3 separate regions of the Homo sapiens genome follow, and all the other regions are linked to region 2. Evidence: promoter capture Hi-C in human tissues and cell types (Jung and others, 2019). All regions are on one chromosome and are shown on one strand. Each heading gives the region's core, a stretch centred on a gene start or on the middle of the fragment in contact. The rest is flanking DNA. Distances are from core to core; before and after follow the strand shown. Region 1 overlaps CTNNA2 (catenin alpha 2). Region 2 holds the start of LRRTM1 (leucine rich repeat transmembrane neuronal 1). Region 3 overlaps CTNNA2 (catenin alpha 2).

Evidence for each region. Contacts are between HindIII fragments. The study calls those that stand out against the background at their distance.
Region 1: a contact is called between a fragment that was not itself captured here and the fragment with the promoter of LRRTM1 in region 2, in 2 of the 25 tissues and cell types used here (heart right ventricle and ovary).
Region 3: a contact is called between a fragment that was not itself captured here and the fragment with the promoter of LRRTM1 in region 2, in 3 of the 25 tissues and cell types used here (mesendoderm cells, spleen and thymus).

Annotation. Positions count from the first base shown.
Region 1 is chr2:80,236,490-80,240,761 of GRCh38, reverse strand. All of the region lies in intron 7 of CTNNA2 (catenin alpha 2), which reads right to left. Among named protein-coding and RNA genes, the nearest start is that of LRRTM1, 66 kb to the left of the region's middle. The HindIII fragment of the contact is 4,617 bases long and covers 74-4,272 here.
Region 2 is chr2:80,301,350-80,306,125 of GRCh38, reverse strand. LRRTM1 (leucine rich repeat transmembrane neuronal 1) reads left to right here and starts at 1,374. Exons shown (of 2, transcript NM_178839.5): 1 at 1,374-1,974; 2 at 2,248-4,248. The coding sequence starts at 2,307. The coding sequence ends at 3,875. The region is part of intron 7 of CTNNA2 (catenin alpha 2); the gene reads right to left. RefSeq lists an enhancer at 1,932-2,557. The HindIII fragment of the contact is 15,461 bases long and covers 1-4,654 here.
Region 3 is chr2:80,375,764-80,380,708 of GRCh38, reverse strand. The region is part of intron 7 of CTNNA2 (catenin alpha 2); the gene reads right to left. Among named protein-coding and RNA genes, the nearest start is that of LRRTM1, 73 kb to the right of the region's middle. The HindIII fragment of the contact is 4,258 bases long and covers 1,059-4,945 here.

The DNA.
Region 1 (4,272 bases), core at 1,133-3,632, 66 kb after region 2:
CCACAGTGAAGATTTTAATGATCTTACATTCCCATATGAGATCTTCTTGCCTCTATACCTATAAATTACACTATGGTATTAATGATGAAGGAGCAAAAAAAACAGAATCATGTAACAGAGAGAATTTTTTTCCCGGGGTTATTAATGCTGTGTGGGAAGGAAAGAGAAACAAAGATTTGGACACAAAATGAGTACGAATATATGTTAATGTACCATGGGAGCCAAAGAGATTGGGTGGGTTTCACAGGGCTATACTCGAGAGATAATTTGAGCAAGTAATCTGGTGAGAAGGAGTGGGACTACGGTGCACATATCTGTGGAGATGGCTGGAGGCAGGAATAGCAAGCAATTTCCGTGGAAACATTAAAGATTGAGTGTTGCAGGGGAAACACAGGGTACTAGCATTAACACCATAGAAGTTCTCAAATCTGGGTTGAGTTCAAGTTATTTTGTGTATTCTCTAAGATATCCTAAAGCCAAGGCCAAGTGATGACTTATGTTGTTGATCATTATTTCATGTGTGTCTTAGAGTCACCACTTAGATTGGACAGGGACTTTGTTCATCCTTCTCTAATACCTTCCATTGGGATGAACCAGAACTCAGCTCACTGAGGGTGTTCAATACTCATTGCTGGGTTCTCTGAGTACCACCTAAGAGGTATGTAGGATGCCCATATGGTAGTCCCCACTTATGCACGCTTTCACTTTCCAGAGTTTCAGCTAACTGTGGGCAACCATGGTTCAATGACATGAAATGGAAAATTTCAGAAATAAACATTCACACAGCTTTTATTACAGTATATTGTTATGACTTTGTTTTGTTTTGTTTTGTTTTTTGTTTTTTTTTTTGAGATGGAGTCTTGCTCTTGTTGCCCAGGCTGGAGTGCAATGGAGCGATCTCGGCTCACTGCAACTTCTGCCTCCCAGGTTCAAACGATTCTCCTGCCTCAGCCTCCCGAGTAGCTGGAATTACAGGCACATGCCATCACGCCTGGCTAATTTTTGTATTTTTAGTAAAGACGGGGTTTCACCATGTTGGCCAGGCTGGTCTCGAACTCCTGACCTCAGGTGATCCACCCACCTCAGCCTCCCAAAGTGCTGGGATTACAGATGTGAGCCACCACGCCAGGCCATAACTATTCTATTTTATTATTAGTTATTGTTGTTCATCTTTTACTGTACCCGATTTATAAATTAAACTTTGTCATAGGTATGTATAGAAAAAAATAGTGTATAGAAAAAAAACAGTGTACTATTAGACCTCCACTGCGGGGCTTGGAACGTATTCCCCGTGGATAAGAGGGGGGCTATTGTATTTGCTTCAACTTAACAAATATATTTATACATATGCCCACACACTACATACAATCACAAACACACTCCCCACACACATACACAAACATCCCCACATGATACGTAAATGACTTTCTGACAATCACCCAAGTTTCGCATAGCTAAGCTGGGGGTGGTTACCCAGGTCTCAACTCTAGGCCAAAAGCTATTTTCAGCACTGAAATTCTCCCAGCATGAGAGCACTCTTCAGAGTACATCAAAAGTAGTATCTCATGGAAGAACTTTATCTAGAACAGACGTCTTAAAAATAGCATAATAATTGTAATCTTTAAATACACACATGGATGGAAGACGTAGAATTGGTTACTATATTCAATTATCCTCATACTCAACTTCATCTAATCCTGAGCTGGATGAATTGTTTAAGTGAAAAATTATGTTGTCTTCAGGCTAAAAATCTTCCCCTGCTCTGAAATATTTTACGCCCCCTCTTAACATTTTTATAACAATTAGCTTCTATTGTGAATACGGACTATATTAAGCCTCCCAGCCGACAGATCAGCATGTTGTTCCCCATTCTGCCACTAGGTGGCCGGTAGTAATTGATCTGATTTATCCCTGTGGCGTGAATTCCCAGGAGTGAGACTTAGAGACAATTCCGGATGTTTCTACCGTGTTGATGTCCTGTGGGGAAGCCAGTTTTACTTTACTTACCCTAATGACTATGTCCCTTCCCCCATTCCATCCCTCTATTTCTCTTTCAGAGCAAAGTGCTCTTTAACTTTTACGCTAGCTTCAGGATGTTTCATAAGCAAAGAGGTTCACTTTCTTCCAGTTAAGCTATGGGACTTGTCAGGAACTGTTTCATGTTCTTATTTTCTCTGAGTGAGCTATCATTATGCAGGGGCCTCTCTGCAGGCTGTCTACAAAATCTCTTTCACATCTGCATGGTTAACATCCTCCGTACTTCTCCTCCTCATTCCCTTTCCCAGCTTCATAATAAAAAGGCACATCAGCCTGTAACAAACTCTTGTCAAGACTCAAGGGCTTCTAATTAATTCCTTGTAATGTTATTTCTTATATCAATTAACTCCTGGGGAACCAGCAACTCCCTGTCAAGGCCAGCTCTTTACAACTGCAGAGTGGAAGTCTTTCTGTGCAGGAAGTGGCTACATGAACTCGACTGCACAACGTGCTGTCAGCCCCTCCTTGCCTGCCATGCCGCCATTCCCCTTGCCCTGGAGCCTCAAATGATCTTGAGTAAAGTCATTCCTTGAGGTCACAGAGTCATAAATGGACTTTTATTTCTGGATTCTCCTTGTGAGAATGCACTATTACAGTCCAGAACAGTGCTGGAGCCAGGGGAGGGAGTCTTACCAGTTCCTTCCTCTAGATGAGGTATGCTCATTCCTTAAAGCTTGTCCTTGGACGGCACAGATACCTAAATGTAGCTTTAAGAGACACGTCAGGGGAGTGGCTAGGGGGAGCAAGAAAAAGAAGTGTCAACTTAGAGAAGGTGCTGGACCAAGAAGAGTTGTCACCAACTGGGTATCCAGAATGAGCACCTTAGGAGAGGGTCCAGGCAGCCCTTCAATGAAGGGCAGGTTGAAGACCAACTCAACCCACCACCACTTTGCCCAGGATATAGAGTCTTCATAAAGCAAATCCTTTCATTTTCTTGCTTCATTTCCCAATCCTGAGTTTCATATTCAGGACAGAATTTTAAGAACTCATGCCTATGAAACATCAATGCAGATCCTTAGAACCTTGTAGTTGGAGGAGGTATTTAAAGTCTTGTTGCCCAGGGTAGGGCTATGCAGGTGTCTGTTCCACAGGTGCTTCCTCTGGCATCCAGTCTCACTAGCCCCTTCCACTGTGAAGGCCTGGCACATTTTGGAGTTAACAATGGTAACAAAAAAGGAACAAGAGTACCTCTCCTACTACTATTGCCAAGAACCACCACTGAGAAAACACAACAGTCAGTCTTTAGGTTTCCTTACACCTATGTATAGATGCTCCTCAACTTACAATGAGACACATCCTAATACACCCATCGTAAGTTGAAAATATTCTACATTGAAAATACATTTAATACCCTGATAAACCCATCCTAAAGTCAAAATATCATGCATTGAACCATTGTAATTTGGGTACTGTATGTATTTTGAACAAACACATTATTCAATTTTTTAGCAAAAATGCAGACATTTAGTAACATATCCAAGGTAACCACATTGGATATTAGCAGGGCTGGGACCAGTGTCTCCATATGCTTGACTCAATCATATAGAATATTCCTTCTCTTGTATGACTTGTAAGACACTTATTCTGAACTCATGTCTTTGTGGCTGTGTTTTCTGATCTAAGGATGAGGTTACATGGACTGACAATGGGAAGGGATCCTTGAAATTTCAGGGTAGTACCAGCTGTTGAGATGACACAAATGAAAACTGTGCATTTCTTTCAATATGTTACTGCTTTCTCTCTTAAAACAGAGGTTTGAAAAAGCTTCCTTCTCTTTGCTTTCCCTCTTAAAACAGAGGTTTGAAAAAGCTTCCTTCTCTTTTGTAGTGAAAAAGTCCATGGAGCCTATAAATTGGTGCCATCTCACATTTAATAGTGAGGAGAAGCCTACCACCATTGTGGATTCTCTGTGTCTGATTAGCCACAATGTTTTCCTTTTTGGGAATGAGCCCAGGAAAACTATTTCACTTATCCTAGTGATTTCACAGACATAAGGCTCCTTGACAGATAAATAAAAGCAAGTTCAAGTTCACTTGTGCAAACAGACAATAATCTATAGGCCTACTTTACTGTATTTTTAGACTGACTAGTTGTTCACTGAATCCATTTTCCTTTCCTCCTGCACACACTAGTAGATTACATTTCCCAGTATCCCTTGTGACAGACTGCTGCCTGAGTCTTCATTTGCAAGCAGGATAGGGAGGACTACAAGGCACTAAGTAATGAGAAGGCACA
Region 2 (4,776 bases), core at 125-2,624:
CCCTGTTCATATGACTTTTCCTGAAAAGTACCACCAGTCTTTGGTGACTTTGATTCCATTGGTTGGCCTCTTCAGCTTAGATGCTAAGGACCAATCCAGTTACTTGTCCAGTCTATCTACCCTGGCTCTGGTAATCCACCCTCATTCCTATCAAAGTAAGTGCCACTACATATAATGCCTACTGATTTTGACTTCCTTAGAGGCAGAAACGATGGGAATTCAAACAGTGGAGCTGGAGACTCACATTTGACTCTCCCTACCATCTCCCTGGGCATCTTTGTCAAGAAGGAAGGCTTGCCCACACTCACTTCCCGCAGGCTTTCTCAGCCATCTTGGAGGACTTTGTTTAAACAGATGACCAACTGACCCTCCCCAGGGCAGACCCTCTACAGACCAGTAGGCACAAGGTGTGTGTGTGGGGAGGTGGGGGGAGAGCTCATTGTAAGGACTCCTATCTATAAATGATTATGAATAGAAATAATGAGGCAAAGGCTTCTCGTCATACTCAGAGGAAAAAGTGGCACAACTTAGTGCAGTCTCAAAGATTAATTAGGATGTGTGTATGGAGACGGGTAGGCTTCATTATGGCTTAAACTATCACGTCCCTACACATTCACACTCTCTTGGAGTGGGGTGCACTGCAGGGCCCAGTAATCACCATGAACAGCACAAGTCAGGGTAAGCCCTCCCCATGTCAGACAGTACAATCGTTCTTTAATCCACTCTGTACCCCATATGTATCTGTGGAGCCTGATGAAGCCCCGGAGGGATCTCAGTCAAGTCTCCCTGCACACAGACATACCTTTTTGCCACACTGGATCTCACACCACCGGGACTTGGATGGCTTCCCAAACTAGGTGGGTTTGGAAAGCATTTCCCCTCTCCACCTCAAAAAAGGGCTGGCTGACTGCAGAATTCCAGTACCCGCAAGAGGGGGAAAAAACCCCAAAAATCTTAGCCAAGCCCCAAATCATTGCCTTCCTGTGTCTTCTCTCAAGTTGCTTTTCTAAAGCAAAGGTCCAAACGTTGATTTCTCTACAGATTCCTACGTATCTCTTACACGTAGACAGTTTTAAAGGGGAAAAGAATATATCCCCAAAAGGCAAGGGGGAGAGCACAGAACATTTCAGTTTCCCACTTGGAAATATCTTGTCGTGGATGATGCTACCCCTACCTCCACCTCCCTCCCCCCTCCTTTTTTTTTTTTTTTTTTTTTTTGAAATATGGACAAAAAAGCTGAAAGTGTTTTCCGTTTCATCAAAAAACATATATTACTTTAGTGGTTCGGTAAAATGTTGGTTTTATGCCCACCCCTTTTCAATCTGCCCATGTCTGAGGTGCTCGGGGAAGACGCACAATCGTGAGCAGCTTACGACACTCAGTGAGCAGTAGGTGCCTGTGCAAGCTCGCGCCGCACACTGCCTGGTGGAGGGAAGGAGCCCGGGCGCCGCTCGCCGCTCCCCGCGCCGCCGTCCGCACCTCCCCACCGCCCGCCGCCCGCCGCCCGCCGCCCGCAAAGCATGAGTGAGCCCGCTCTCTGCAGCTGCCCGGGGCGCGAATGGCAGGCTGTTTCCGCGGAGTAAAAGGTGGCGCCGGTCAGTGGTCGTTTCCAATGACGGACATTAACCAGACTGTCAGATCCTGGGGAGTCGCGAGCCCCGAGTTTGGAGTTTTTTCCCCCCACAACGTCACAGTCCGAACTGCAGAGGGAAAGGAAGGCGGCAGGAAGGCGAAGCTCGGGCTCCGGCACGTAGTTGGGAAACTTGCGGGTCCTAGAAGTCGCCTCCCCGCCTTGCCGGCCGCCCTTGCAGCCCCGAGCCGAGCAGCAAAGTGAGACATTGTGCGCCTGCCAGATCCGCCGGCCGCGGACCGGGGCTGCCTCGGAAACACAGAGGGGTCTTCTCTCGCCCTGCATATAATTAGCCTGCACACAAAGGGAGCAGCTGAATGGAGGTTGTCACTCTCTGGAAAAGGGTGGGTAAGACACTTTTTAATTAAATTCTTTCCCGAAGATTTTTTTTTTCCTCCCTTTTCTTTGCTGCAGCATCTAACATGGACCAAATCACCATCTCTTTGATCTTTCCGTGGCTGTGAACTTTCTATGCTGCCCAGCTTTCTGCATGCTTAGAGGTGAACGTGTGGTTTTTGGGGAGGGGGGTCCTTCTTTATTTCTATGTATTTATTTGATTTTTTGCCCTTTTCTCCCCCTCCCCCGCTTCCCCTCCCTCGGAATAAAATATGATGTAGATTTCTGACCGAGCGCTTCCAATGGACATTCTCCAGTCTCTCTGGAAAGATTCTCGCTAATGGATTTCCTGCTGCTCGGTCTCTGTCTATACTGGCTGCTGAGGAGGCCCTCGGGGGTGGTCTTGTGTCTGCTGGGGGCCTGCTTTCAGATGCTGCCCGCCGCCCCCAGCGGGTGCCCGCAGCTGTGCCGGTGCGAGGGGCGGCTGCTGTACTGCGAGGCGCTCAACCTCACCGAGGCGCCCCACAACCTGTCCGGCCTGCTGGGCTTGTCCCTGCGCTACAACAGCCTCTCGGAGCTGCGCGCCGGCCAGTTCACGGGGTTAATGCAGCTCACGTGGCTCTATCTGGATCACAATCACATCTGCTCCGTGCAGGGGGACGCCTTTCAGAAACTGCGCCGAGTTAAGGAACTCACGCTGAGTTCCAACCAGATCACCCAACTGCCCAACACCACCTTCCGGCCCATGCCCAACCTGCGCAGCGTGGACCTCTCGTACAACAAGCTGCAGGCGCTCGCGCCCGACCTCTTCCACGGGCTGCGGAAGCTCACCACGCTGCATATGCGGGCCAACGCCATCCAGTTTGTGCCCGTGCGCATCTTCCAGGACTGCCGCAGCCTCAAGTTTCTCGACATCGGATACAATCAGCTCAAGAGTCTGGCGCGCAACTCTTTCGCCGGCTTGTTTAAGCTCACCGAGCTGCACCTCGAGCACAACGACTTGGTCAAGGTGAACTTCGCCCACTTCCCGCGCCTCATCTCCCTGCACTCGCTCTGCCTGCGGAGGAACAAGGTGGCCATTGTGGTCAGCTCGCTGGACTGGGTTTGGAACCTGGAGAAAATGGACTTGTCGGGCAACGAGATCGAGTACATGGAGCCCCATGTGTTCGAGACCGTGCCGCACCTGCAGTCCCTGCAGCTGGACTCCAACCGCCTCACCTACATCGAGCCCCGGATCCTCAACTCTTGGAAGTCCCTGACAAGCATCACCCTGGCCGGGAACCTGTGGGATTGCGGGCGCAACGTGTGTGCCCTAGCCTCGTGGCTCAACAACTTCCAGGGGCGCTACGATGGCAACTTGCAGTGCGCCAGCCCGGAGTACGCACAGGGCGAGGACGTCCTGGACGCCGTGTACGCCTTCCACCTGTGCGAGGATGGGGCCGAGCCCACCAGCGGCCACCTGCTCTCGGCCGTCACCAACCGCAGTGATCTGGGGCCCCCTGCCAGCTCGGCCACCACGCTCGCGGACGGCGGGGAGGGGCAGCACGACGGCACATTCGAGCCTGCCACCGTGGCTCTTCCAGGCGGCGAGCACGCCGAGAACGCCGTGCAGATCCACAAGGTGGTCACGGGCACCATGGCCCTCATCTTCTCCTTCCTCATCGTGGTCCTGGTGCTCTACGTGTCCTGGAAGTGTTTCCCAGCCAGCCTCAGGCAGCTCAGACAGTGCTTTGTCACGCAGCGCAGGAAGCAAAAGCAGAAACAGACCATGCATCAGATGGCTGCCATGTCTGCCCAGGAATACTACGTTGATTACAAACCGAACCACATTGAGGGAGCCCTGGTGATCATCAACGAGTATGGCTCGTGTACCTGCCACCAGCAGCCCGCGAGGGAATGCGAGGTGTGATTGTCCCAGTGGCTCTCAACCCATGCGCTACCAAATACGCCTGGGCAGCCGGGACGGGCCGGCGGGCACCAGGCTGGGGTCTCCTTGTCTGTGCTCTGATATGCTCCTTGACTGAAACTTTAAGGGGATCTCTCCCAGAGACTTGACATTTTAGCTTTATTGTGTCTTAAAAACAAAAGCGAATTAAAACACAACAAAAAACCCCACCCCACAACCTTCAGGACAGTCTATCTTAAATTTCATATGAGAACTCCTTCCTCCCTTTGAAGATCTGTCCATATTCAGGAATCTGAGAGTGTAAAAAAGGTACCAATCATTGATTTTTTTTTTTTTTGTAAACTAAAATGTTTAAAATAAAATAGCATTTACAGTTTTTACAGACTGGTGTAACCTAAATGAATTGTTACCTGTGTTACAAGAAAAGCAACAGTTAAAATTTCCTTGGTGGGTGGGGAGGGAGTTGTCCAGGGGCCAGAAGGAAAATCCAGGAGCAACGTAGTCAGATTCAATTTGAAATTTTAAAGAAGGGCAAAGAAAGCTTATCAGATTAATGATTTATGTTAATTTACTCCACATGTGTAAGGACTAGAAAAAGAAAAACTGCAAGACCCTTTATATTACTGGGGCAGGGACAGTGCAATCTAACCACCTTCAGGCAACTGAGAGGTGGACTGAGGACTGGGCACCCTTACTCAGCCTTTAAAGCAGAGAGCATTGCAAATGGTTTTTAAAAAGCAATGCCAGACAGTTTCTCCTAGGAACACGAAACATTTTTGCACTTAATGTAACCATCTTTCAAATCACCTCAAAATCTCATCCCCAAATGCCACCTGTTCTTAATTCTCCTGAGTCTTTGATTCACCAGACTTAGTAGCATTTGTGCCCTTCTTGTACCCCCTGT
Region 3 (4,945 bases), core at 1,938-4,437, 73 kb before region 2:
CATGGAATTTTAAGAAGTGCATTGTAATCTCTGCAGGCCAGCTGTAGGGAAGGAAAACACAAAAACAAAAAATACACACAATAAGACCTTTGCCTAGGTTATCATCCTACAAGCTTATACCTTTTCAGATTGCGCATATATCTCACACTTCACTGGATTCTTATGACAACACAAAGTCTTCGGCTATAAGTGAAAAAGGCTGAACAGCCAAAACTGGGAGAACTTCTTGGGAGAGACTTAATTCTCCATTGCTGGCTCCTGACCTCCAAGGCCTCCTCAGAGCCCTTGCGGGAGGCTGAGAGTTTCTCAGTTGTTCCTCCCTGTCTGCTTAGAAATTCAGAAGAGCAACATCTCTTCCCAAAAGTACATCTCTGGCCAGGTGCGGTGGCTCACGCCTGTAATCCCAGCACTTTGGGAGGCCAAGGTGGGAGGATCACAAAGTCAGGAGATCGAGATTATCCTGGCTAACACGGTGAAACCCCGTCTCTACCAAAAATACAAAAAATTAGCCGGGCATGGTGGCAGGCACCTGTAATCCCAGCTACTCAGGAGGCTGAGGCAGGAGAATGGCGTGAACCCGGGAGGCGGAGCTTGCAGTGAGCCGAGATCGTGCCACTGCACTCCAGCCTGGGCGACAGAGTGAGACTCCGTCTCAAAAAAAAAAAAAAAAAAAAAAAAAAGTACATCTCGAACAGTGCAAGACATTGATGAATGGCTGCTAATGAAAACTTTTACGTAACTTAGGTCCTCAGGGTGCTGCTGCTGGTTAAATAGTGGTAAATGGTGGCTAAAAAATGAGAAAATAAATAGGAGAGTCTTAGACTCAATAGTCCATAGGCTTAAAACTGTTAATAGGAGATAGTTATAACAAATGAAGATTCCTGGTCCCTTTCCCAAAATACTCTGTTTCAGTATCTCTAGGGTAGGGCATGGAAATTTTCCATTTTAATAAACATTTTTAAATTATAGATAAATTCTTGAAACAGGAGGATAGTTCAATGGGTTTCAAACCAACAAATCATTTGATTAATCAATCTCTCCAATTGTGGCCTAGGAATCTGTATTTTCATATTTCCTTCAAAATTCCATTGTTTAACCTAATTTGGGAACTTATTTTTGTAACCATTTACTGGAAGTACACCTGAAATAGAACCAAAATCCACAATTATGGCAATTCTGCTTAATTCCCAGTGAATTAGTCACTATATCTAAAAAAACCCAAGAGATTCATAATCAAACCACTTAATTAGAAGAGAAAAGCCACACTTTCTGACACACTAAAACAATACAGGCTAGGCATACCCTGTAACAACATTTCAAAAAAAGTCCCTGCACAAAGAAAGAAAAAGCTATACCAGCTTCCCAAATTCTTTGACTGTTATTGTCATATCCACCTGTAGACATCAAATAAGGTTAGCTGAGACGATGGACAAAGAGATAAAAGTGACTGCTGATCTTACTAAGGCATAAAGAGCTTAAGAAACTTTTGCAAGTTTACAAAAGTAAAACAAAAAACCAGGATCCTGATACAGGCAATATTTCAGAGCTTCTGCTTGTAAACCTGTCTACACTATGCTGATTTCCTAATATTTTAAGAAAATTCACTCCCAAGTTCCTCTTTCTATGATCCCAACCTTTCCGTTCCCTTGTAATTATGCCCCAGCCCTCAAGAAGAAGAGTTTCTCTGAGCACCCCATAATAATCTCCTAAATCCCACTTCTGCCCTCTTCCCCATCCTGAAGCATCCTCTACAGCCAAGATAAAACCCTGCCTCTCCCTGACCCCAGAGCCTACACAGAACTCTCTTCCCGATACCACGACAGATCAGTGCTTTCTGATGTCGGGCAGACAAAGAAAGCCCTGAATAGCCTTCTTGGGGAAAGCTGGCACCAAGTGGTCTCACCCCGCATCCCTCATAGTCAGATACCTGGCTGTAGCTACTCCCTGTCTTCCAAGCCCTGATGAAAAAGGCAAGAGTAGGGCTAAAGGTGGGTGCTTGAAGCTTCTCTGTTCACTCAGAATAAGCTGAGGGGAATGAACTATTGTTGCTTCTAATTATGTCATCGGCCCTATGGAAAACTGGATTTTTAACACTGATTATAGGAAACTATTGGAGTAGGTTGACAATAACTCCTAAACTGCTGATGATGCATTTGTTAATCATATATACAACACAGCAGAGTAAAATAAAAATGTTGTGATCATGCCTTGCATTTGAATGTGTGCATATGAATGAATGTGTGTGTGTGTGTGTGTGTGTGTGTATACTGCAAGTTCATGTGACATTATGTCTTCTCTGTTATTTATTTATTTATTTATTTATTTATTTATTTATTTATTTATTTATTTTTTGAGACAGAGTTTTGCTCTTGTTGCCCAGGCTGGAGTACAATGGCGCAATCTCTGCTCACTGCAAGCTCCGTCTCCTGCGTTCAAGTGATTCTCCTGCCTCAGCCTCCCAAGTAGCTGGGATTAAAGGCGCGCCACCATGCCCGGCTAATTTTTTGCATGTTTAGTGCAGAGACGGGGTTTCACCATGTTGGGCAGGCTGGTCTCAAACTCCTGACCTCGTGATTCGCCCACCTCGGCCTACCAAAGTGCTGGGATTACAGGCTTGAGCCACCTGCGCCTGGCCCCCTTCTCTGCTATTTGTAAGCAGGTACTCTCCCAGTAGATAGAGTTTAAACTATGTCAGGGAGAGACCACATCTCCCAGTGTCAGGCACAATGCCCCCAAAAGGAGTTTCCCTTGTACTCAATAAAGTCTTGTAGTGACATTAGACTTGGGAGTCAAAGAATGTTAAGGCCAAGTTTCCTCTGGCCACAGATGAGAGATGGGACCATAGATGACCGAGGAAGATAAATTCCAAAATCTTAGTTCTTCCAGAATCTCATACCAACCTGCTTATTTGCATCCAGAGCTACCTATCCGGCCATGTGTCGCCATGGAAAGCCATAGTGCTAGCTCCAAGGTTCATCTTAGTCTCCTAGAAGGCTTATGACACTAAGACTTAGGGTGGGGAAAGACGGATGCTTTGATAAATAAATCAATGTTATCTCATTTTACCTTCTTATGTAAAATCACAATGCAAATGCAATTTCCAGTCTTCCTACCTCCTCAACCTTCATGCTCTCCCACATGCCTTCCTTTCCTTCCAAGAGCTTTCGAAGTAGACACAGACTTACATTACATCTCAGCTGCTCAGCTGTGTGAGGCTGGGCAATTTTCCTAAACTCACTGAATCTCAGTTCTCATCTGCAGAATAGTGAAAATAATGCCTAACCCAAGATTATGGTAAAAATAAGAAAATGCATACAACATGTCTATCTCTGAGTCTAGCATGAAAATGGTATCCAATAAGCAAATTCCTTACCCTGATCTTTTCCTCTTGTGATAGTAAGCTTCCTAAGGAAAGGCACAGTGCCAAGAATCTGAACTATGGATAAATGGAAGACAGATGGATTGAATGTCTAGGGAGAATAAATTGTTTTATAGGCTGGATCTGGATTTACCAAGACTTGCCATTTGGAAATCTTTGAGCATCTGAGTAATATTTAACACTTGTGAAATTTTCACCAAGTTAAAATCCATTCATGACATACTCATATATGAGGCAAATGAAAAAGGAGAACCAGACATTGACCCTGATATTTCACTTCTATAGTCCAGTCATGAGGAATTCAAGCTCTGACAACCGTGGTAGCTTCTACTGGGGAAAGATGGGGAGCAAATGCTGGGGACTGATTCCTCCTTTTCAGTCCTCTGCATGGGTAATGAAATCAGTAATGAACACACCTCACTGATGATTGTAATCAAACTGAGCACCTGTAACTGCCAGAAAGAGGGAGATCCCCCAAGCATCAAGAGTGGATTCTATTTCAGTCACCCTCACTTGGCATATCAAGGAAGGGATGGCCTTGCAGAAATTAGAAAGCCAGATGCAGCAGGCTTTCCATGTCTGCCCCACACTGATGGGGAGTCCTCGAAGGGAATTGCTAATCACTTATACACACCTCAGAAGGTAGCAGCCTCCAGAGCTGGGTCTGAACAGCAAGAAAAACATTCTTTTCTAAATGTCCTCTCCACCATGATGCAAAGTCTAGAGATCTATCTATCATTCTTTAATGTACAATTCTTTATTGTAACTCATTTGTAATGACTCCAGAAGTTCCCTGCTAAAACACTAATAAAACTAAGAAGGATGTTACATAGACAATTTACTTACCGTTTTTTTTTTTTTTTCCTGTTTCTACCATTAGCCTATAAACCTCAATTAGGAACTTCATCTCTCTAGTTTGCTGGCATGTCTACTAAGTCCAGTAGCTGGCAAAAGTTTCTTAATGAAGGTGTGACCTAAAATGGTTGTCATTCTAGAAAATAGACAGCTGTTCCCTAAACAGATAGAATAGAAAGGCAAGATGGAAACCTCTGTGTGAAGGGTGGGAGAAGAAAACTTAAAGAGTTAAATAAAACAAACTCTGGTCCCATAGGAAATCAGTTCATTAGGAATTTAGGATTTAGGAATTAGACATATGTATGACTCTAAACAAAAAACTGAGGGGAAAAAAAATCAAATAATGGTAGAGATGTGGGAGGGGCAAAAAAAAGATTCATTTTTATAGTTTAAGGCAAAGAGTGACTCAGACCTTCAGACCTTATCCTGGAGCTTCTGTGTGCTGTGGTGGATCCAAAGCAGGAACTACCAAGGGAATAAAACTGGCCAGAGATCCCATTTCTACTACCAAAATAGGAGGTACTTAGAGGAAGTCAGAAAGGGAAGCCAGAAACCAGGAATCAAAAGTGAGTAAAAAGTCCTGAGTAAAACCAGCTATAAGTCTGACTTGAAGGCCAGGCATGGTGGCTCATGCCTGTAATCCCAGCACTTTGGGAGGCCGAGGCGGGTGAATCATGAGGTCAGGAGATCGAGACCATCCTGGCTAACACA